Regions from separate parts of the Homo sapiens genome. Here regions 2 and 3 are each linked to region 1. The links are contacts of gene promoters, found by promoter capture Hi-C in human tissues and cell types (Jung and others, 2019). All regions are on one chromosome and are shown on one strand. Each heading gives the region's core, a stretch centred on a gene start or on the middle of the fragment in contact. The rest is flanking DNA. Distances are from core to core; before and after follow the strand shown.

Region 1 (3,901 bases), core at 474-2,973:
AAAAAATAAAAACTTTCAAATTTTAGCAACAAATGGCTTTGGTGCGTTTGCATTCTCGCCAGTCTTCAAGGAGTAGATAATTTTTATGCTTCATAAACAGTTACAGAGCACAACAGGAAGAAAGACCTGCCAGTTTTGTTTCCAAATCCGGTTTACCTCTGATACTGGCCCCATCTCTGTCACCTTGCACTGCTGGCTCTATGCCACCTGCAGACTCTCGCGGCCTCTCTCTCCCTCTCTCACGCAGCACCCCTCACAAAATCTGGGACTTGGCACTCTCGGTCCCCCACAGGGATCAGCATTTGGATGAGAAAATACCAGGCTCGAGCTGCTCTTAACCACGTTTATTGAGAGGGGCCGGGGGAAGGGGATGGACGGTCCTCCCCGCGGCGGGGTTTTCAGCCCTCGCGGGTGGGCAGCGTCTTGTCCTCAGGTGTAGATGCTCCAGTCTCGGCTCAGCCAAACACTGTCAGGGCCCCCTGGAAAGCAGAAGCCGAGCTTGAGTGCCCCCAGCCCTGCCACCAAGAACTCAGGCGGGGGCGCGGCAGCGGCCGGCTCTGTGGGGAGCGGGAGCGGGGCGGTTCCGCTGGCGTCTCCGGGGGACGCGCACCCGCGCGGGGCCATCTCCGCCTTCCCCGCCCCTGCAGCTCGGATGCGCCCCACCCAGTTCCCACCCGGAGACCCGGGCTTCTCCCAGGGACAGGGCTTGGAGGGGCAGGACGGGAAACAGCCCTGACGTAGGGCCGGGACACCTCTGGTGCAGTTTTGAGGCTGGCCGGGAAGGGATGCCCGCGCAGGAAGGGCACCCGGGGTGCCCACTTTACCAGCAGGGCCTTCAGGGCCTTCACGGCCCCCACGGCCTGGGGACCCAGCTCAGCCACACACTTCTGGGAGCCCTCTATGAGGTGGTTCACGGGGATGCCCAGGCTGCTCAGCAGGAGCTTCAGCGGGTTGAGGGTGCCGAGGGGGTTGGCCAGGGTCCCGGCCCCGGCCTCCGCCGCCGACTCCAGCGCAGCGACAGGCTGGGCCACAGGCTTGGCCGAGCCCACTAAGAAAGCAGCAGCTGCAAGCGAACAGGGAGGGGTCACCGCCTGCGCGCCGGGGTCCCCAGAAGGCAGGTCCAGGACGCGCCCCCGCGGGAGGCGCCCAGGAACCGTCGCGCCCTGCCCGGCTCCCCGACCGCCCCTCCCTCCTGCGCCGAGGCCTGCCAGGTGCGAGCCCCCGGGACACAGGCGGGTCTGGGGAGGCGGCCCCGCCAGGAGACGCTGCAGGGTCACCGGAGTGGCCTGAGGGTGGCGGAAGGACCGGTGAACTCTGTGCAGGGTCCGGGACAGGCCCCCAAGGGAGGGGACACTCGCGCTGCGCCTTGCAGGATGAGGAGCCGGTCTCCAGACGGGGGGCAGACGGGTGTCCCCAGGCCAGGGGCGGCCTCCATCCCGGCACGAGGCTGGAGACAGCCCTGAGAGGGGGAGGCCGCGGGCTGCAGGCGCGGGGCCCCGGGGTGGCGGAGCCCTCTGGGCGCCGGGCGAGGCTGGAAGGACCTGGGATCCACGATCGGCGCAGGCAGCGGCGGGGGCGCAGCGGGCGCCGAGGCCTCAGGCCCCACCGTGCGCGCCAGGAGCCCGGGGCGCTCACCGGAGCTGCAGGACAGGGCCACGCAGAGCCCCAGGAGGGCGGCGAGCTTCATGGCGCGGGGGCTCGGGGCGCGCGGGGAACCTGCGGCTGCCCGGGCAAGGCCACGAGGCTTCTTATACCCGGTCCTCGCCCCTCCAGCGCCGGCCTCGCCCGCGCTCCTGAGAAAGCCCTGCCCGCTCCGCTCACGGCCGTGCCCTGGCCAACTTCCTGCTGCGGCCGGCGGGCCCTGGGAAGCCCGTGCCCCCTTCCCTGCCCGGGCCTCGAGGACTTCCTCTTGGCAGGCGCTGGGGCCCTCTGAGAGCAGGCAGGCCCGGCCTTTGTCTCCGCGAGGCCCACCCCGGCCCGCACCTTCGCTTTGCGGTCTGACCCCACGCGCCCCCCTGCAGGGCTGGGCCCGGGTGAGGGGAGCTTCCCTCGCGCCAGGGCAGGGGCGGGGGCGGCGCAGTTCCTGGCTCCCTGGTCCCTGCCTCTGATCCCAGACCGTGGCAACGTCGGGCACTGGGGGTCCTCGTGGGCGCCTTCTGCGCCTGGGGAGGTGGAGGCGCCAGGGACGATCAGGCCTCACTCCCGGCCGCCTCCCCGGCCGGGCCACAGGCAGCCACAGTGCAAACAGAAGTGGGGCGTTTTTCTGTCTTCGAAACTAGCCTCGACGCCAGTGGATGGGCCTGGTTTGTTCCTGAGTTTCTCTAAATGTCCTCACTCGTCTGTCACCTGCAGAAGTATGACAGATGGAGAGCAAAGCACATTTTGAAAACTTTTGCAAATGATACATAAACTAATTTGCTTTTAGTCCTTCTTCTTTCCTCTATTTTTTGACCCCAGGCATTGAGCACTGAGTGACTCACGTTTTGCTGCGTGGCTGCTCTCAGCTAGGTTGGTGCAAAGTCTCTCTTTTCTTTTGTAAAGTGTAGCTGGCACGCGTGGGAAACAGGCTCCCGGGTGGGAGGACCTGACTCTTCAGGCAGTGTCCTGGAATTCCTTCCCTATGGCTGACAGCACGTCTTAGCCCTCAGCCACCCCGAGCTACTGCGGCCTCCTCCGCACCTGCAGACACTTGTGCCTTTGCCAACTGTTGTGGCCAGGCACACGCATTCACACTGTTTCTGTTCACTTACACTTTTCCTTGACTATTTTGTTTGGGGGATTTTTGCATTATAAATCTGGAGTTTGGTTGTGTTTTGTTGGTCATCATGGAAGTAATTTTAATGGGAAATACGTTTTCTTTTTTAAAAACAGTTTGAAGTTAATTACTTTTTTGGTGGTGGTAAAGACACTGTCTTGCCGTGTTGCCCAGGCTGGTCTCGAACTCCTGAGCTCAAGCAATCCTCCCACCTCAGACTCCCAAGTAGCTGGGACTAGAGGTGTGAGCCACCACACTCAGCGGATTTTGATTTTGTTTTTTGTTTGTTTGTTTTTTGAGACAGTCTCACTCTGTCGCCCAGGCTGGAGTGTAGTGAGGTGATCTTGGTTCACTGCAGCCTCCACCTCCCAGGCTCAAGCAATTCTCCCACCTCAGCCTCCCAAGCAGGTGGGGCTATAGGTGTGCACCACTATGTCCAGCTAATTTTGTTTATTTTTTGTAGAGACAAAGTCTCACTGTGTTGCCCAGACTGGTCTTGAACTCTTAGCCTCAAGTGATACTCTTGCCTCAGCCTCCCAAAGTGCTGGGATTACAGGTGTGAGCCACCACGCCTGGCTTGATTTATTTTTATTTTTTCTAGAGATGGGGTCTCGCTACATTGACCAAGCTGGTCTCAAAATCCTGGCCTGAAGCAATCCTCCCGCCTCAGACTCCCAAGGTGCTGTGATGACACGTGTGAGCCACCCCGCACAGCCCAGCTTCACCATCTTAAGGGCACACTCCATTAGCATTAAGTATATTCTAATGTTGTGCAAACATCACCACAATCCATTTCCAGAACTCTTTTCCTCTTATAAAACTGAAACTCTGAGCCTATTAAACAACTCCCCACTCCCCTCCCCAAGCCCTTGGCACCACCATTCCACTTTCTGTCTCTGAATCTGGCCACTCCCGGCACCTCATATGAGTGGAATCGGGCAGTGTTTGTCTTTTGTGTCTGGCGTATTTCACTTAGCATGATATCCTCCAGGTTCATTCATGACCTTCAGAGTTTCCTTCCTTCTTAGGGTAGGATACTGCTCCATTGCATGGCTGTGCCACGTTTTCTTCACCCATTCACTTCACCCGTGGGTGGACATGTGGGCGCTTGCATGTTTTCACTGCTGTGAGTAATGCGGCCGTGAA
Region 2 (3,901 bases), core at 987-3,486, 390 kb before region 1:
GGTGACAGAGCGAGACCTTGTCTCTAAATAAAAACAAGAAGAAGAAAGTCCCACCCTACATGGGGAAACAGAGCACGCCTGAGGGTGGGTGTCAGAGCACTGGCGGCTGGGGAACTGAAAGGAGACAGCATTCGAGCCCGGAGGTGGCTGTCTCAGGAAGGCCCTGCTTCTAGGGGCCAGGCATGTGGCCTGGAAGTAGAGGCAGCCTTCGGAGGCTTGCTAGTAACAGACAGGAAGTAGCAAGCCTGGACATTCAAGGACCTACGGAAGCAAAAGTGAATATTGTAAACTCAGAAAACACAAGTCCACTCCCGCCTCCCAAAGCACAAGAAAATGGTGCACTTCATAACAACAACAGGAGAGGGCGCTCTTACACTAAGAAACCTACTACGGTTCCCAAGCCCCCAGCTCCTGCCTGCAGCCATCTGTTACCACCAGTCCAGGCAAATTAAGACATCTCTAAGTTAACAGATAATATCCATACAAAGCCAGTATAAAGAGCCGACACTAATCCTTCCCACAAACCCCCAATTTACAAAGGGAAAAACCACACGCAACACCTCAACTTGAATTACCTAATGCTATGGTCTGGAAGTTTACGTCCCCCAAAATTTATAATGGAAACGTAGTCCCCAGTGTGATGGCATTTGGGGGCGGGGGCCTTTGTGACGAGATTAGGTCTCGAGGGCAGAGCCCTCATCAATGAGATTAGTGCCCTTAGAAAAGAGGATCCAGAGAGCTCCCTTGTCCCTTCCTCCATGTGAGGGCGTGAGGAGAGGAGCCATCTGCGAACCAGGATGCGGCCCTCACCAAATACCTTGATCTTGTACCTCCAGCCTCCAGAACTGTGAGAAATCGTTCTGTTGTTTGTAAACTAACCCAGTTTCTGATACAGATGAACAGATGAAGACACACTAAAAATTCAGACACATGAAGAAAATCCCTACATTATACATTCAAAAACTCAACAGAAATGGACCCAAAAAAAGGTAAATGTGAAATTAGAGTTGCCTGAACTCATGAAAAAAAATGAGGAAAAGACCATCATCTCAGAAATGAAGACTGAATTAGAAAATCTCTTAGGGAGAACAGATTTGACTAAAAGCTTAATAGTGTTCATTAAGGAAATTAATGAAAACAACCATAAAACAAAAATAAAATTCATAGAGAAAGCAATCTAGAATACAGATGAAAAACAGATCTAACACAAACATATTATTGGCATCTCTGAAGAAAAAAGGTAAAATAATGGTACATAATATTTAACACTATAATCTAAGAAAATGTTTTAGAAATAAAAGAAGACTTAAATATGCATATTCAAAGAGTCCCCCACGTACCTAAGATCATTTCCAAGAGAATGCCTAGTAAAATGATTAAACTTTAAAAATAAAGAAAAAAAATTCTTTGGAGCTCCAGAAAAACAATCAAGTCACTTACAAAGGAAAGAAAGGCATGTTTATATCAGACATCTTGTCAACAATGTACAAGCAATACAACCCATAACAACATTTTTAAAAATTTAGGGACAGAAAGTAAGAGGCAAGGATTTTATAACCTGCCAATCTATCCTTCAAGTAGCAAGAGTATAGAAAGCAAGCAAGCAGGAAATAACAGTACTCACAAGTCTTTCTTTTTTTTTTTTTTTTGAGACGGAGTCTCGCTGTCGCCCAGGCTGGAGTGCAGTGGCACAATCTCGGCTCACTGCAAGCTCCGCCTCCCGGGTTCACGCCATTCTCCTGCCTCAGCCTCCCGACTAGCTGGGATTACAGGTGCCCGCCACCACGCCGGGCTAATTTTTTGTATTTTTAGTAGAGACGGGGTTTCACCGTGTTAGCCAGGATGGTCTCGATCTCCTGACCTCGTGATGCACCCGCCTCGGCCTCCCAAAGTGCTGGGATGACAGGTGTGAGCCACCGCGCCTGGCCAGTACTCACAAGTCTTTCTTAAGGAACCAACAGAAGCTAAGCTTTGTCCAGTCAAAGGGTGACTGGGAAAACTTTGGCAAAAATAAATATTAGTAATCAGAATCCAACATCCAACAGGCAGTTTCTATGGTGCTCACCGGCATGAGCTCTACCTCTTGGTGTTCATACATTTGGGACTGGGTGGGGCTTTTGACTTTCCTCTGACCAACAGACTATGGCAAAGATGATAGGATATCACTACTGGGATTATGTTACGTTGTTATATCATGTATGTCACGTTATACTATGTTATGTTTTGTTATGTTATGACTCTCTAGGGACTCTTTGCTGGCTTGATAGAGTAAGCAGTCATGCTGGGGAAGCCCATGTGACAAAGACCTGTGGGTAGTCCCGAGGAACTGGGGGTGACCCTAACAAGTTGAGGTTGGCCTCCAGCCAACATCCAGCCAAAATTTTAAGCTCTAAATATAACTACAAAGAACTAAATACTGCCAACAACCACATGAGTGGAGAAGCAAATCCTTCCCTAGCTGAGTCTCTACATGAGAACCTAGTGCTGGCCACCAGCAGTACTCAGCTAAGCCATGCCCAGGCTCTTGATTCACAGAAATGATGAGCTAATAAGCCATGCGTTGCTTTAAGCCACTAGGTCAATGATAACTTAGTACACAGCAATAGATAACTAATACAATGATATTGAAACATACTACAGGCTGGGCGCGGTGGCTCACGCCTGTAATCCCAGCACTTTGGGAAGCCAAGGTGGGAGGATCACTTGAGGCCAGGAGTTCGAGACCAGCCTGGCCAACATGATGAAACCCCATCTCTACCAAAAATATAACTTAACCGGGCATGGTGGTGCACGCCTGTAATCCCAGCCACTTGGGAGGCTGAGGCAGGAGAGTCGCTTGAACCTGGGAGGCAGAGGTTGGAGTGAGCCGAGATCATGCCACTGCACTCTAGCCTGGGCGACAGAGTGAGACTCTGTCTCAAAAAACAAACAAACAAACAACAACAACAACAACAACAAAGTGAAATCTGGGGGAAGACAAAAGTTATACATAGCTTTTTGACTGTGTGGGGGTCAGCATCCCTAACCTTCTCATTGTTCAAGGGCCAACTGTAATTGCTAAACTATATTCCATCGTACGGATATATATCTTGTTTATTTATTCACCAGTTGATGAACAACTGCGTTGTCTCTACTTTTCTGGCCATTATAAGCAATGCTGTTATGAGCATTTGTGTACAAGTCTTTGTGTGGACATTTCATTGTTTTCATTTCTCTTAGATTCCTGGGAGTGGGACTGTTGGGTCATATGGTATTTTTATGTTTAAATTTTAAAGAAACTGCCAAACTATTTTCTACATCATGTCCAAGTGGGACTTATTTCAGAAATGCAAAGATGGCCTAGTGTTAATATTCATACGTTTTGTGTCTGTTTACCTCAGCCTAGTCCCAGACCTGATATTGGGAAATCCATCACATGACTCATTATGCTACTAGTAATCAGGAGAAATATCAGATCATTATCTACATACATGGCTCTAACAAAGGTCAACACCAATCCTGATTTTTAAAACTGCCAATAAAATAGGAGTCAATGGATATTCCTCTATCTATCTATCTATCTATCTATCTATCTATCTATCTATCTCATCTATCTATCTCTTCCCATCCTAAAGTCAGCATCTTTCTTAATAGGGGAAGTATTAGAGGCCTTTTTACTAAGGTCAGGAACAAGGTAAGGAGGCCCACCACATCCAATATTTAATACTGAATTGGAGGTATTCAGCCAATTTAATTAGATAAAAGAAAGCATAAAAATCAGTAGAGAAGCAGTAAAGCTATTTGAATTTGTAGATGACAGAATGACTAACAGAATCAAAGATATGACTAACAACAGGCCGGTAATGGTGGCTCATGCCTGTAATCCCAGCACTTTGGGAGGCTGAGATGGCAGATCATCTGA
Region 3 (3,901 bases), core at 465-2,964, 280 kb before region 1:
CTAGAAACCTGGTGGAGAGCTGGTGCTCAGCGCAGGCTCACAGGACTGGCCAAGGGGTCCTTAGGCCCGGCCCTCCCCAAGCCCAACGCCCTGCCCTCCTTCCCGCTGGCTCCTCAGGGTCTCCTGTGCCTGTCCTCCGTGGGGGTGGGGGCTGGGGGTGGGGGCTCACCAGGGCTCCTTCCAGGCAGGTGGCATAGTTGTAGCCCCGCCCCATCACCAGCAGCGATCTCTGCGTGTAGAGCTCCAGGGCCAAGTCGTGGATCTTCTCCTCCAGAGACAGCACTTCCTTGATCAGCTCTGGGCCATGCACGGAGCAGAGGGAGAAAACCAGTCAGGCCGACTTTAAAGCAATATTCATGAAGACAAATGCTGGGGTTTAAGAGGAGCTTTTGAAACCGCATCACTTAGCACACTTTGCTTCCTCGCATTCGTTTCAAACGTAGATTACAGGAAATAACTTGGGCTCCTGGCCAGGATTCTGTTAGGATGGGGATTCGTGTTGTGTGAACACTTTCTTGAGCACCAACAAGGTAGGAAGTACCATTTCTCACTCCGTTTTGCAGGTAAGACAACTGAGGCTCAGAGAGGCAAAAATCACCCACTGGAGACAGAGCTGACACCACCAGTTAACACCCCTCTTTCCTGCTGTGTCTCAAGACAAGGCCCCTGTAAGTGGGACCACCGGTTCTCAAACCCTTTGGTCTCAGGACTCCTTTACACTCTTGAAAATTATTGCAAGTCCCTCAAATTATTGCACATCCCCAAGAGCCTTTGTTTTTGAGTTAAATCTGTCAACATTTACCAGATTAGAAAATAACACTGAGGACCAGGCGTGGTGGCTCACGCCTGTAATCGCCGCACTTTGGGAGGCCGAGGCGGGTGGATCATGAGGTCAGGAGATCGAGACCATCCTGGCTAACATGGTAAAACCCCGTCTCTACTAAAAATACAAAAAATTAGCCGGGCGTGGTTGGGTGCGGTGGCTCACGCCTGTAATCCCAGCACTTTGGAAGGCTGGGGCAGGCGGATCACGAGGTCAGGAGATCGAGACCATCCTGGCTAACATGGTGAGACCTGGTATCTACTAAAAATACAAAAAATTAGCCGGGCATGGTGGCGGGCGCCTGTAGTCCCAGCTACTCGGGAGGCTGAGGCAGGAGAGTGGCGTGAACCTGGGAGGCGGAGCTTGCAGTGAGCTGAGATGGCACCACGGCACTCCAGCCTGGGCAACAGAGCGAGACTCCATCTCGAAAAAAAAAAAAGAAGAAAAAGAAAGAAAGAAACTAACAATGAGAAATTTAAAAATATTCACTTTAAAATAACAACACTAAATCTATTACATTACTTCATTTCCAACAAGAATTAGTGAGAAGAATGGCACTGCTTTTTGTTCTTGCAAATCTTTTTAGTGTCTGCCTTTTTAATAAAAGACTGTTGACTCTAATATCTGCTTTCACATTCAATCTGTGGTGATAAGCTCTTTTGGTTGAAGTATAAAAATAAAATTCAGCCTACAAATACAGATTTGTAGTTGGAAAAGCGAGGAGTATTTAAATTATTTTACAAATAATTGTGAATATTGTTCTTTGACACCACAGTACATCAAACTTGAGAAACAGTAGGTTCTTGAAAGGGTAGGTGCCAATATAGAATCTGAAATCCTATCAATAAACTTTTTCTACTTTGTTAGGTTAAAATTTATTTTTCTGTCTTGTGCTTTTAAATGGATCATTTACAAGTGCATAACTCTGTGACATCGTGAACTGGCCACAAAGGTATGTAAATCTTCTTAAAATGGACACTTTTATTATAAAATGTTCTTTAAAAATCACCTTGTTGAAGTCACCTTGATCTCATCAGAGAAGACTTTTTTTTTTTTTTGAGACAGAGTCTCACTCTGTCACCCAACCTGGGGTGCAGTGGCACGATCTCGGCTCACTGTAACCTCGGCCACCCGGGTTCAAGTGATTCTCCTGCCTCAGCCTCCTGAGTAGCTGGGATTACAGGTGCCTGCCACTGCACCCAGCTAAATTTTTTAAATATTTTTAGTAGAGATGGGGTTTCACCATCTTGGATAGGCTGGTCTTGAACTCCTGACCTCATGATCCACCCACCTCGGCCTCCCAAAGTGCTGGGATTACAGGCATCAGCCACCGTGCCCGGCCCTAGAGAAGTCTTTAAATGTTAGGAACTGGTCAAGCTCATGGTAACAGAGGTGTTTTCTAACACTCAAAAGTTTTGCCTGGGAGCTTAAAGTTTATCATTGGCAACAAATACCATGGGTTGCTTCTACTGATGCGTCAGCTGATTTTTCATTTTGAGAAAATGTCTAACAAACACCAAAATCAGCTTGCTACTCAATGGGATGGCTGCTTCTCTTGAGACAAGCATCACACTTCAGTGTAGAGCAGAAAGGCTTTTTCTCTTTTTCCAGACGGAGTTTTGCTCTTGTTGCCCAGACTGGAGTGCAACGGCGTGATCTCAGCTCATTGCAACCTCTGCTTCCCAGGTTCAAGTGATTCTCCTGACTCAGCCTCCCAAGTAGCTGGGATTAAAGGCGCACACCACCACACCCAGCTATTTTTAGTAGAGATGGGGTTTCACTGCGTTGGTCAGGCTGGTCTCGAACTCCTGACCTCAGGTGATCCGCTCGCCTTGGCCTCCCAAAGTGCTGGGATTACAGGCATGAGCCACCACGCCTGGCCCCAGTAGAAAGGCGCTACGTGTACTCCCCATTTCATCATAAAGGATATTACAAAGAGTTGCAATTTACAGACTAATAATTTTTACCACCTCATCAAGGCCATTCCTTTTTTTTTTTTGAGATGGAGTATCACTCTGTCACCCAGGCTGGAGTGCAGTGGTGCGATCTCGGCTCACTGCAAACTCTGCCTCCCAGGTTCACGCCATTCTTCTGCCTCAGCCCCCCGAGTAGCTGGGACTACAGGTGCCCACCACCACGCCCGGCTAATTTTTTGTATTTTTAGTAGAGACGGGGTTTCACCATGTTAGCCAGGATGGTCTCGATCTCCTGACCTCATGATCTGCCTGCCTCGACCTCCCAAAGTGCTAGGATGACAGGCATGAGCCACCGTGCCCAGCCTTTTCTTTTTGAGATGAAGTCTCGCTCTTGTCGCCCAGGCTGGAGTACAATGGCACAATCTCGGCTCACTGCAATCTCCGCCTCCTGGGTTCAAGCAATTCTCCTGCCTCAGCCTCCCAAGTAGCTGGGATTACAGGCACCCACTAGCACGCCCAGCTAATTTTTGTATTTTTAGTAGAGATGGGGTTTCACCATGTTGGCCAGGCTGGTCTCGAACTCCTGACCTCAGGCGATCTGCCCACCTCGGCCTCCCAAAGTACTGAGATTACAGGCGTGAGCCACTGCGCCTCACCATCAAGGCCATTCTTTTTTGTTTTTTGAGATGGAGTCTCACTCTGTTGCCCAGGCTGGAGTGCAGTGGCAGAATCTTGGCTCACTGCAACCTCTGCCTCCTGGGTTCAAGTGATTTTCCTGCCTCAGCCTCCCGAGTAGCTGGGATTACAGGCACCTGCCACCACATCCAGCTGCTTTTTGTGTTTTTAGTAGAGATGGGGTTTCACCATGTTGACCAGGATGGTCTCGAACTCCTGACCGCAGGTGATCCGCCCACTTCAGCCTCCCAAAGTGCTGGGATTACAGGCGTGAGCCACCGCGCCCGGCCATCAAGGCCATTCTTAAGGGAAACTGGGTGTGTGCTGGTGAAGGACACAATGACCAGTAGGCCTTCTAGTGTGCTGGGTGCCGGGCACAGCCACCACTGCCTTTGCAAATGTGGACACAGGCAAAAAAAAAAAAAAAAAAAAAAAAAAAAAAAATTTTTAGTATAAAGAATGTATTACTATGTGAACAATTTTGTTC

The links. The method cuts DNA at HindIII sites, captures the fragments that hold promoters and counts their contacts. A contact is called where the count stands out against the background at its distance.
Region 2: a fragment that was not itself captured here is called in contact with the fragment with the promoter of SCGB3A1 in region 1 in 1 of the 25 tissues and cell types used here (H1 embryonic stem cells).
Region 3: a contact is called between a fragment that was not itself captured here and the fragment with the promoter of SCGB3A1 in region 1, in 1 of the 25 tissues and cell types used here (mesendoderm cells).

The regions. Positions count from the first base shown.
Region 1 is chr5:180,589,776-180,593,676 of GRCh38, forward strand. SCGB3A1 (secretoglobin family 3A member 1) reads right to left here and starts at 1,724. Exons shown (of 3, transcript NM_052863.3): 1 at 1,636-1,724; 2 at 825-1,063; 3 at 330-479. The coding sequence starts at 1,687. The coding sequence ends at 456. LOC124901154 (a long non-coding RNA gene) reads left to right here and starts at 3,395. Exons shown (of 2, transcript XR_007059088.1): 1 at 3,395-3,434. RefSeq lists enhancers at 1-585, 586-1,255, 1,256-1,925. The HindIII fragment of the contact is 36,128 bases long and covers 1-3,901 here.
Region 2 is chr5:180,201,074-180,204,974 of GRCh38, forward strand. The region is part of intron 1 of RASGEF1C (RasGEF domain family member 1C); the gene reads right to left. Among named protein-coding and RNA genes, the nearest start is that of RASGEF1C, 6.2 kb to the right of the region's middle. The HindIII fragment of the contact is 5,165 bases long and covers 1-3,901 here.
Region 3 is chr5:180,307,007-180,310,907 of GRCh38, forward strand. It overlaps GFPT2 (glutamine-fructose-6-phosphate transaminase 2), which reads right to left. Exons shown (of 19, transcript NM_005110.4): 16 at 170-297. Among named protein-coding and RNA genes, the nearest start is that of MAPK9, 17 kb to the left of the region's middle. The HindIII fragment of the contact is 6,492 bases long and covers 1-3,901 here.